3 separate regions of the Homo sapiens genome follow, and regions 1 and 2 are each linked to region 3. The links are contacts of gene promoters, found by promoter capture Hi-C in blood cells and fetal thymus (Javierre and others, 2016). All regions are on one chromosome and are shown on one strand. Each heading gives the region's core, a stretch centred on a gene start or on the middle of the fragment in contact. The rest is flanking DNA. Distances are from core to core; before and after follow the strand shown. Region 1 has its middle 60 kb from the start of GNA14. Region 2 overlaps GNAQ (G protein subunit alpha q). Region 3 holds the start of GNAQ (G protein subunit alpha q).

Evidence for each region. Contacts are between HindIII fragments. The CHiCAGO score rates a contact against its expected background, and 5 or more counts as called.
Region 1: a contact is called between a fragment that was not itself captured here and the fragment with the promoter of GNAQ in region 3, in 2 of 17 cell types (neutrophils and monocytes). The highest score is 7.2, in neutrophils.
Region 2: a contact is called between a fragment that was not itself captured here and the fragment with the promoter of GNAQ in region 3, in 5 of 17 cell types (total CD4 T cells, activated CD4 T cells, fetal thymus and 2 more). The highest score is 6.7, in total CD4 T cells.

The regions. Positions count from the first base shown.
Region 1 is chr9:77,707,439-77,710,138 of GRCh38, forward strand. No RefSeq gene overlaps it. Among named protein-coding and RNA genes, the nearest start is that of GNA14, 60 kb to the left of the region's middle. RefSeq lists enhancers at 295-589, 2,247-2,296. The HindIII fragment of the contact is 4,148 bases long and covers 1-2,700 here.
Region 2 is chr9:77,726,954-77,729,653 of GRCh38, forward strand. It overlaps GNAQ (G protein subunit alpha q), which reads right to left. Exons shown (of 7, transcript NM_002072.5): 6 at 1,561-1,714. Among named protein-coding and RNA genes, the nearest start is that of GNA14, 80 kb to the left of the region's middle. The HindIII fragment of the contact is 3,517 bases long and covers 1-2,700 here.
Region 3 is chr9:78,030,545-78,033,244 of GRCh38, forward strand. GNAQ (G protein subunit alpha q) reads right to left here and starts at 1,267. Exons shown (of 7, transcript NM_002072.5): 1 at 556-1,267. The coding sequence starts at 691. RefSeq lists an enhancer at 456-1,350. The HindIII fragment of the contact is 11,535 bases long and covers 1-2,700 here.

The DNA of each region.
Region 1 (2,700 bases), core at 174-2,673, 320 kb before region 3:
TCGGTTTGGGAAGTTGATATTTGAGTCGCATTTGTTGAACACATGTTCAGTGCAAAATTTGCAATCATAAAAATTCCAACTTTCTGCTCAGTAGGAAGTGGAGAAATTTGGAAAAATTTAGTTCACTGGGCTAAGATTTCCCTGCCAAAGAGTTAGATTGTTGGCTGTGTGAACTAGGGGAATGACTGAGGAACAAAATCTTTAATATTTGTATTCAGGATGACTGATTCCGAGAGACAATACAGGGTAGAAACAATATGTCCACGAAAGGAAGGTATTAATTTTGATATCCACTTGAGTATTATTTTACTGGATAATTGACATCAGGAAGGTTAGGGTTACAAGAGCAGCTTGCAGGCTTAGCTGAAAGCAAGGCCTGTGTCATGGTGGGGCAGGAAGCCAATAGGTAGAAGTCAGTGTGCACTTGGTCCATTTGGTGTTTCATCATCACTCGACTGCACTAATGCTTAAAGAATGTGCTTCGCATAGTTTGCTGTCCACATCATTTATTTTCTCAAAACACATCTATTTCTTGGAGAACTCATGATTTCAAGTATCTGCTTTTGAAAGTCTTGAGCTATTTATGAAACACAAGTCATTCTGCAGAAGATTCAGACTAAGGGACAATTATTGCTACTCTGTAGGTAACATCTTTTTTTTCCTCTAGATTCTTTCAAGATTTTTTCTTTACCTTTGATTTTTCACAGTTTGAATATCATATGTATATGTGTAGTTGTGGGGTGTTTTTTGGCATTCATCCTGCTTGGTGTTCTCTGAGCTTGTTAGATCTGTGGTTTGGTGTCTAACATTAATTTGCAGAAAATGGGGAAGTATCATTCATTACTTCAAAAACTTCTTCTATTTCTTTCTCTCTTTATTCTCCTTGTGGTATCCCCATTATACCTATTATAACTTTTGTAGTTGCCCCACAGTTCTAGGATATTCTGTTCTTTTTTTCTTAGTCTTTTTTTTTTCTTTTCAGTTTCAGAAGTTTCTATTGAGATATTCTCAAACTCTGCATCTTTTTCCTCGTCTATGTCTAGCCTACTACTCAAAGGCATTCTTTATTTCTGTTAAAGTGTTTTTTATCTCTATCATTTTCTTTTCATGCTTTCTTGGAATTTCAGTCTCTGTGCCTACATTTCCCATCTGTTCTCACACATTCTCTACTGTGTATCCACTAGAGCCCTTAGCATATTAGTCATAGTTGTTTTAAATTTCTACTCTGAAAATTCCAACATCCCTGACATATTTGAGTCTCATCTTGCTTGCTCTGTCACTTCATACTGTGTGTTTTTTTCCTTCTAGTATGCCTTGTAATTTTTTTCTTGATATCTGTTCATGATGCAGTAGATGAAAGGAACTGCTGCATAGAGGCCTTTAGTAACATGGGGGAAAAGGAGGCTTTTTATGTTCCTATGATTAAGTGTCAGTCTTACAGAGAGTCTGTACCTCTGGACTCTGAACTTTACACATGCTTCTCAATCTTCTTCCCGTCCTTCAGCAGGACAGGATGGCCAGTGTGTGCTGCAGTTAGGTATTTCCCTTTCTCCAGGTTGGTTAGACTCTGGTAAAATCTGAATAGTTTAGGCTCTGATAAAAAGTTTCTCTTGGTTGGGCGTGATGGCTCACACCTGTAATCCCAACACTTTGGGAGGCTGAGTTGGGTGGATCACGAGGTCAGGAGATCGAGACCATCCTGGCTAACACGGTGAAACCTTGCCTCTACTAAACATACACACACACACAAAAAATTAGCCGGGCATGGTGGTGGGTGCCTGTAGTCCCAGCTACTCAGGAGGCTGAGGCAGGAGAATGGCGTGAACCTGGGAGGCGGAGCTTGCAGTAAGCCGAGATCGCGCCACTGCACTCCAGCCTGGGTGACAGAGCAAGACTTCGTCTCAAAAAAAAAAAAAAAGTTTCTCTTGAGGACAGGCCTTGTTAAGACAAACAGGATGGTCTGGCATATTTCAAAATGCTTCATTTCCCCCTCCTTCTACCAGAAGCATGAGGGGATTTTCCCCTGATAATCACTGTGAGAGCCTGCTTGAGCTCCTGGAATTAAAACTCGCCAAAGTATGAGTGTCTCCCATGACTGGGTAGTCTGGAGTTTCAACTCTCAGAGTTGTACACATTGAACCTTCCAAAATGCATCAATTACTGTTTAGGTTTTTGCATCCTGGCACTGGTTTTGGTAGAGGCTTTTTCTCCTGGGTTTCTGCTTCCATAAGTAGTGATTCTCTGTATTTGCCTGTCTCTCCAGTTTGAGGACAATGGTTTACCCTGTGACTTCACTTCTCTGAGGGATCTAAGAAGAGTTATTGGTTTTTCAGTTTGTTCCGCTTTTTAGTTCTTCTTAGGGTGGAGTTGTAACTGCCAAGCTCCTTATATGCCAGACCAGAAAGCAGAAGTCACTACTATCTGAGTTTAAGGATTTTTATCACCCCAAAATGAAACCCTTTGTTTTGTTTTTTAGTGTTTTTTTTTTTTTTCTTCTCTCTCTGCTTTTCAGTTTTGGAAGTTTCTACTGACATATCTTCAGGCTTAAAGATTCTTTCCTCAGCCATGTCCAGTCTACTAACGAAGCCATCAAAGGCATACTTAATTTCTATTACAGTGTTTTTGATTTCTATTATTCCTTTTCTTTTTTCTTAGAATTTCTTCCTTTATGCTTTCATTGCCCATTTGTTCTTGCAGGTT
Region 2 (2,700 bases), core at 148-2,647, 300 kb before region 3:
GCTGTTATGGTGTGAAAGCAGCCATAGACAGTGTATAATGAATGGGTGTGGCTATGTCTCAATAAAACTTTATTCATAAAACCAGGTGGTGGGCCATAAGGGAGAGATGTGATTATCTTGCCAAATAAATAAACTTTTTTTTTTTTTTTTTTGAGACAGGGTCTCCCATCACCCAGGCAGGAGTATAGTGGCAGGATCATGGCTCATTGCAGTCTTGACCTCTTGCCAACTCCTGCCTCATTTTTTATAGATAGAGGTCTCGTTACATTGCCCAGGCTGGGCTTGAACTCCTGTGCTCAAGTGATCCTCTCACCTCAGTCTCCCAAAGTGCTGGGATTACAGGTGTGAATCACCACACCTGGCCACATAGACTCTTATAGGGCAGCAGTCGTGACTCTCACTTGTTTTACATAGTGGCTACATGTGGATGCATTTTGTTACCAATCACCAAGTGTTCAAGTGTTTCTCAGAATGGGTTGGGTGTCTAGTTGTCCAGGATTTCACAGTCTAGTTGGGGAGGGTAAGATCCTTTTCTAAGAACAAAGCAAATAATGCAGAGCCATAGGAGTAGTGAAGTGGATGCTATAGATTCTAAGTGCTGCACAAAGAGCTTAACACTGGGTTACTATTAGTAATGGTGGTGGGACTTCATTGGGCTATGAAGTTTCAAAAAAGGAAGTATTTCCTGAGTATTCATAAGTGTCCTACGTGTCAGGCATCATGCTAAACGTACACATATGTTATATACTACAGTGCACAAAACAATCCTATGAGTTTGGTCGTAAGGCCCAGAAAAATCAAGTGACTTGATGGTAGTTCTACAAATAGGAAGTGTCAGAACTGGGATCTCAACCTTGATAGACTGATTTCAGTGGTGGGCTCTTAACTTCAAAATTGTGTTCCTCCCCAGAGAGAGGAGAGGCAGAGGTGGACGGTAACCAAATGAAAGGGAGACACAGAGGGGACTATAAGAGTTAATACACAATTGGTCAAAACTACTGGATTGTTCCTTTTTCTGATCTGCTATTTCAAAGCAGATGAGTTTCTTTTCTTTTTTTTTTAGACAGAGTCTTGCTCTGTTGCCAGGCTGGAGTGCAGTGGCGCGATCTTGGCTCACTGCAACCTCCGCCTCCCGGGTTCAAGCAATTCTCCTGCCTCAGCCTCCCGAGAAGCTGGGACTACAGGTGCCTGCCACCACGCCCAGCTAATTTTTATATTTTTAGTAGAAACGGGGTTTCACCATGTTGACCAGGATGGTCTCGATCGCTTGACCTCGTGATCCGCCTGCCTCGGCCTCCCAAAGTGCTGGGATTACAGGCGCTCGCCACTGTGCCCAGCCATGAGTTTCTTTTTCTATGACTTTTAGCATTGTTAAGGAATGCAATGTTTTGTGTCACTAAAAGACAGGGCAAACAAGAATTCCTACTGTATCAGTTTCAACACGCAGGCTGCACAGGGCAAGGGCAGCAATGGTGCACTGTAGTGCGTTAACTCCCACACTGGGGTTTGGAGACAAAACCTATTCACAGCTACTGAGCTGTGGTATGAGTGCTGACTTACCATCATATTCTGGGAAGTAGTCGACTAGATGGGAATACATGATTTTCTCCTCTAGAAGATCTTTCTTGTTTAAGAACAGAATAACCGAGGAGTTCTGGAACCAGGGGTATGTGATAATTGTTCTAAAGAGAGCCTTGCTTTCCTCCATTCGGTTCTGGAAAAAAAAAAAAAATCAGAAAAAACAAGGAGTGAATTACATGATTACTTAATTTGTGAATTGTGTTTATTTTATAAGTCCAACCCATCTTTTGTATACGACCAGTTTTTGTAGCCCTGTGTTGGATTTGTCAGGATTTATATGCAAATGATTCATGACACACATTGGCTGTTTTCATTATGCAAACTCTCAGGCTGACAAGCAGAAGAGAGTAATAATAATAAAAATCAGCTAAAATAGCTCTTACGGTTGAAAGAGAAAATAATTGAAAGCCTAGAGAATCATGTTGTGAATCTGGAACACTGTCATAAATTCCCATCAAAAATCATTCATTAATGACTAAATATTTGAGATCTGAACTAAGGACTAGATATGGCTTCATTTTGTATTTCTTAAGCTATATTTATTTGGGGCCTCACAATTAACTCTATTCTAAGCAATCAAAACAGTTACTTCTTTGTCAAAAGCATATCTATATTTCTAGATGTTTTCTAGAGTTATTACTCTACACACACACATACACACACCCTTTATAAACACATGGAAAATGTTGTAAGATCAAACATTTCCTGTTCATGAGTGCATGCTTTCTCCCTATGTTTCACTATACTATTAATATAGAATTGTGAAGACACACATAGTAATTATGTGGAGATAAAAATGTAATATTTCTCACTTTCAGCATCTGTGAGTAAGTGTTCTCACCTGAAGCTACACTTTCAAGCCTACCTTGGTAACAGAAACCCTAAATGGATTCTGAAGAAAATTAGTCAGCTTGCTACTATAAATGAAGATGCTATTTGAGGCTGTTCCTGAGTTAAATCATTCCTCTGAAAAAAAAAACATATCAGCCAAAAACTAGAGGGCCTCAGAGCTTCTTTCGTCTCTCCTTACCATTCTTTCTCCCATAGACTCACCTCTCTAAATCATTCCTACACTTGGGTTACAGATGAAGGCAGCAGATTTGGGAATTCTCCTTCCCA
Region 3 (2,700 bases), core at 17-2,516:
CTGCCCACCGTTCCCCCATTCCCTCCTGACCCCATAGGGCACTGATAATGGATGCACACCGGCCACTCCACCGCAGGCCATCCCCCAACGTGCCCCGGCTCCGCTCGCCACCCGCTGGGCCACACACACGGCTCCCCACGCCACCACCCCATGGGGTGCCGCGGCCACGACACTGGAAGTTCAACCCCTCTGCCCACCTTTCCACCCCCGCGCCTCTGGTCGGAGTGATCTGCCATTTAGCAGATGCACAGCAGATAAGGTACAGCCCTCAGGGACACGAAAAGGAACAAGCCAAGGCACCGGGCAGGGCAGCCCCGACCCCTGTGCTGCGTGTGTGTGTCGCTGTGTGTGTGTGTGTGTGTGTGTGTGTGTGTGTCTGTGTGTAACGCGCCCGCGCGCCCGCGCGGGTGAAGGCAGTGGCCGGGGGCGCGCCCGGGAGGGTAGGGGCGAACCGCGGGCGCCGGGGGGCGGGGGCGCCGAAGGCAGCTGCCCCGCAGGGCCAAGGATGGTGGGCTGGGGGCGCAGAGGCCCGGCGGGGCCCCGGACGGTACTCACCGAGCAGCAGCAGCTTGAGCTCCCGGCGGGCGTCCCGCTTGTCCCTGCGGAGCTGCCGCTCGATCTCGTCGTTGATCCGCCGGGCTTCCTTGGCCTCCTCGCTCAGGCAGCACGCCATGATGGACTCCAGAGTCATTCTTCCAAAGTGCCTCCGCTGCAGCCCCGCCGGCACCCCCTGCTCACAGCGCGCACACACACCCTCCCGCCCTCGCTCCCCCGAGGCAGCGGTGGCCGCCGAGCCCCCGCCGCCCGGGCGCGCGTCCGGGACGAGCTCCGGGAACCGCCGCGGGGGCGGCGGCCAGGGCCGGGGCCACCAGGTGGGCCGGGGGCGCGGTGGGAGCGGATAGTCTGGGCCGACGGGAGAAGAGAGGCGGGCGCGGGAGGCGGGCGCTGGCTCGGGGGGCGCGTGAGAGAAGGCCGCCGCGCCCGGCCTCGCTCAGACGCCCGCGCCTCCTTCCCCGGGAACAGGCGGCCCGCCTCGCCCCCCGAGCCGCCGCCGCCGCCGCCGCCTGCGAGGCTCCCCTACGCCGTGCGCCTGGCGGCGAGAGCTCATTCACCGGGGTGTCCCCGCAGCGAGCGGCCGCCGACGGCTCCCCGCGCCCGGCGCGCCCGCTCCTCGCCGCCGCCTGACACGGCTCCCGGGCGCCCTCGGCCCTGTCCGCGCCCACCGCCCGGCTCGCGCGCAGACCCGGTTCCCGTCCCGCCCGGCAACCGCGCGCTCCTCCGCCTCCGCCTCCGCCCCCGCCCCCGCCAGACGCCCACCCCCTGCCCCGATTGCCAGGCGCGGAGCGGCTGCTCAGTGCGAGCCCTCCCCCTCGCCACACACACACATTTTCTTCTTTCTCTGAACTGGAGCACAGATCCGGGAGGGAGGAGGCGGCGGCGAAAGGAGGAGGAGGAAGAGGCGGAGGGGATGGGCGCGGGAGGAGGGAGCCGGGAGGCGGTGCCGCCCGGCCCCTCCTGGAAGGCTTTCCTGGGCTCGCGGCCGCCGCGGCGCGCCTCCCAGTGCGGCTCTCGCCTCGCCCGCGCGGCTCCCGGGCTGGGCCGGCCCCCGCGGGCTCTGCGGACGCCTACTGCTCCCGCACCCTCGGCAGAGTCCGCGGGCGCAGCAGTCACGGCCGCCCCCGGCCGAAGTCGGGGCCAGACCCGGCCGCCGACGCGCAGCCCGAGCCGGCGGCCGCCGTTGCGTGCCAGGGCCGCAGCCGACCTGCGGCTGCCGTCCGGCCGGGCGTGGTGAGACAGGAATATGGCGGCCTCTGCCTGCCTCAGCCCACCGGCCCGGGAGCGCGGCCGCGGCCCCTGCTGAAGTCGCGGGAGGCGGCCCCGCGGAGCCCCGCACGCGCTCCCTGCGGCGCCGGCGCTGGCGTCCGCCGCTCCCGGGCTGTGCCTGTCTGCTCCACGGGGTCGCTCCTCAGCCGTTTCTGTGTTTCCCGTTCCTATTTCTAAAACGCCATTCGGTTAGAAACTCTCACGTCACCTCTGACACCGGTGCAGTCTTAGAAAATAAGCTCCTCTATACTGTGTGGGGCTACTGGGGAAGGGAAGGGAAGGAATTGGCACCGGTGCCCAGAGGTGTAGGGGGAGATTCACAGGCGAAGCTGTTCGCAAAGTAACGTGAGATAGAAATCTAAATCCTGAACAGAGAAAGGAAGCTGCCCAAGTTTCCAAGAGCCTCCCGATAGGTTCCAACTTTTCATGCCTTTGTTTTTTTGGTGGTTGTTGGTTGTTTTTGTTTTTTTAAGTTGTTTTTGTTTTTGTTTTACAAGTTCTCTTGTTTCTGAGAAGGCACACGATGTTTAGCCGCCGAGTAATCGAATTTACTCTTCTAGACTGAGATTGAATTATGGATGACTTATGGGAAAATGTAAAATAATGTGGAATAAAAGGAAAGGAAAGAATGAAATAGAAGAGAAACTAAGGAGGCCCCAGCAAAACGGCATTCTAGTTTTTTTGATTTGCAATATGTGATTGAGGCAGTAAACTGTCGTATGCACATTTCATTGTGATCGTCTACTGATAAATAGCACACGAAAATAATCTTGTTTAATCAGGCCCAGGAGATGAAACTCATATTGCTTCCTGCCTTAAAGGAACCTGAGGTCTTCAAAGAAAATTGTCTTTTATGAAGAGAACCGCTTTTTCACG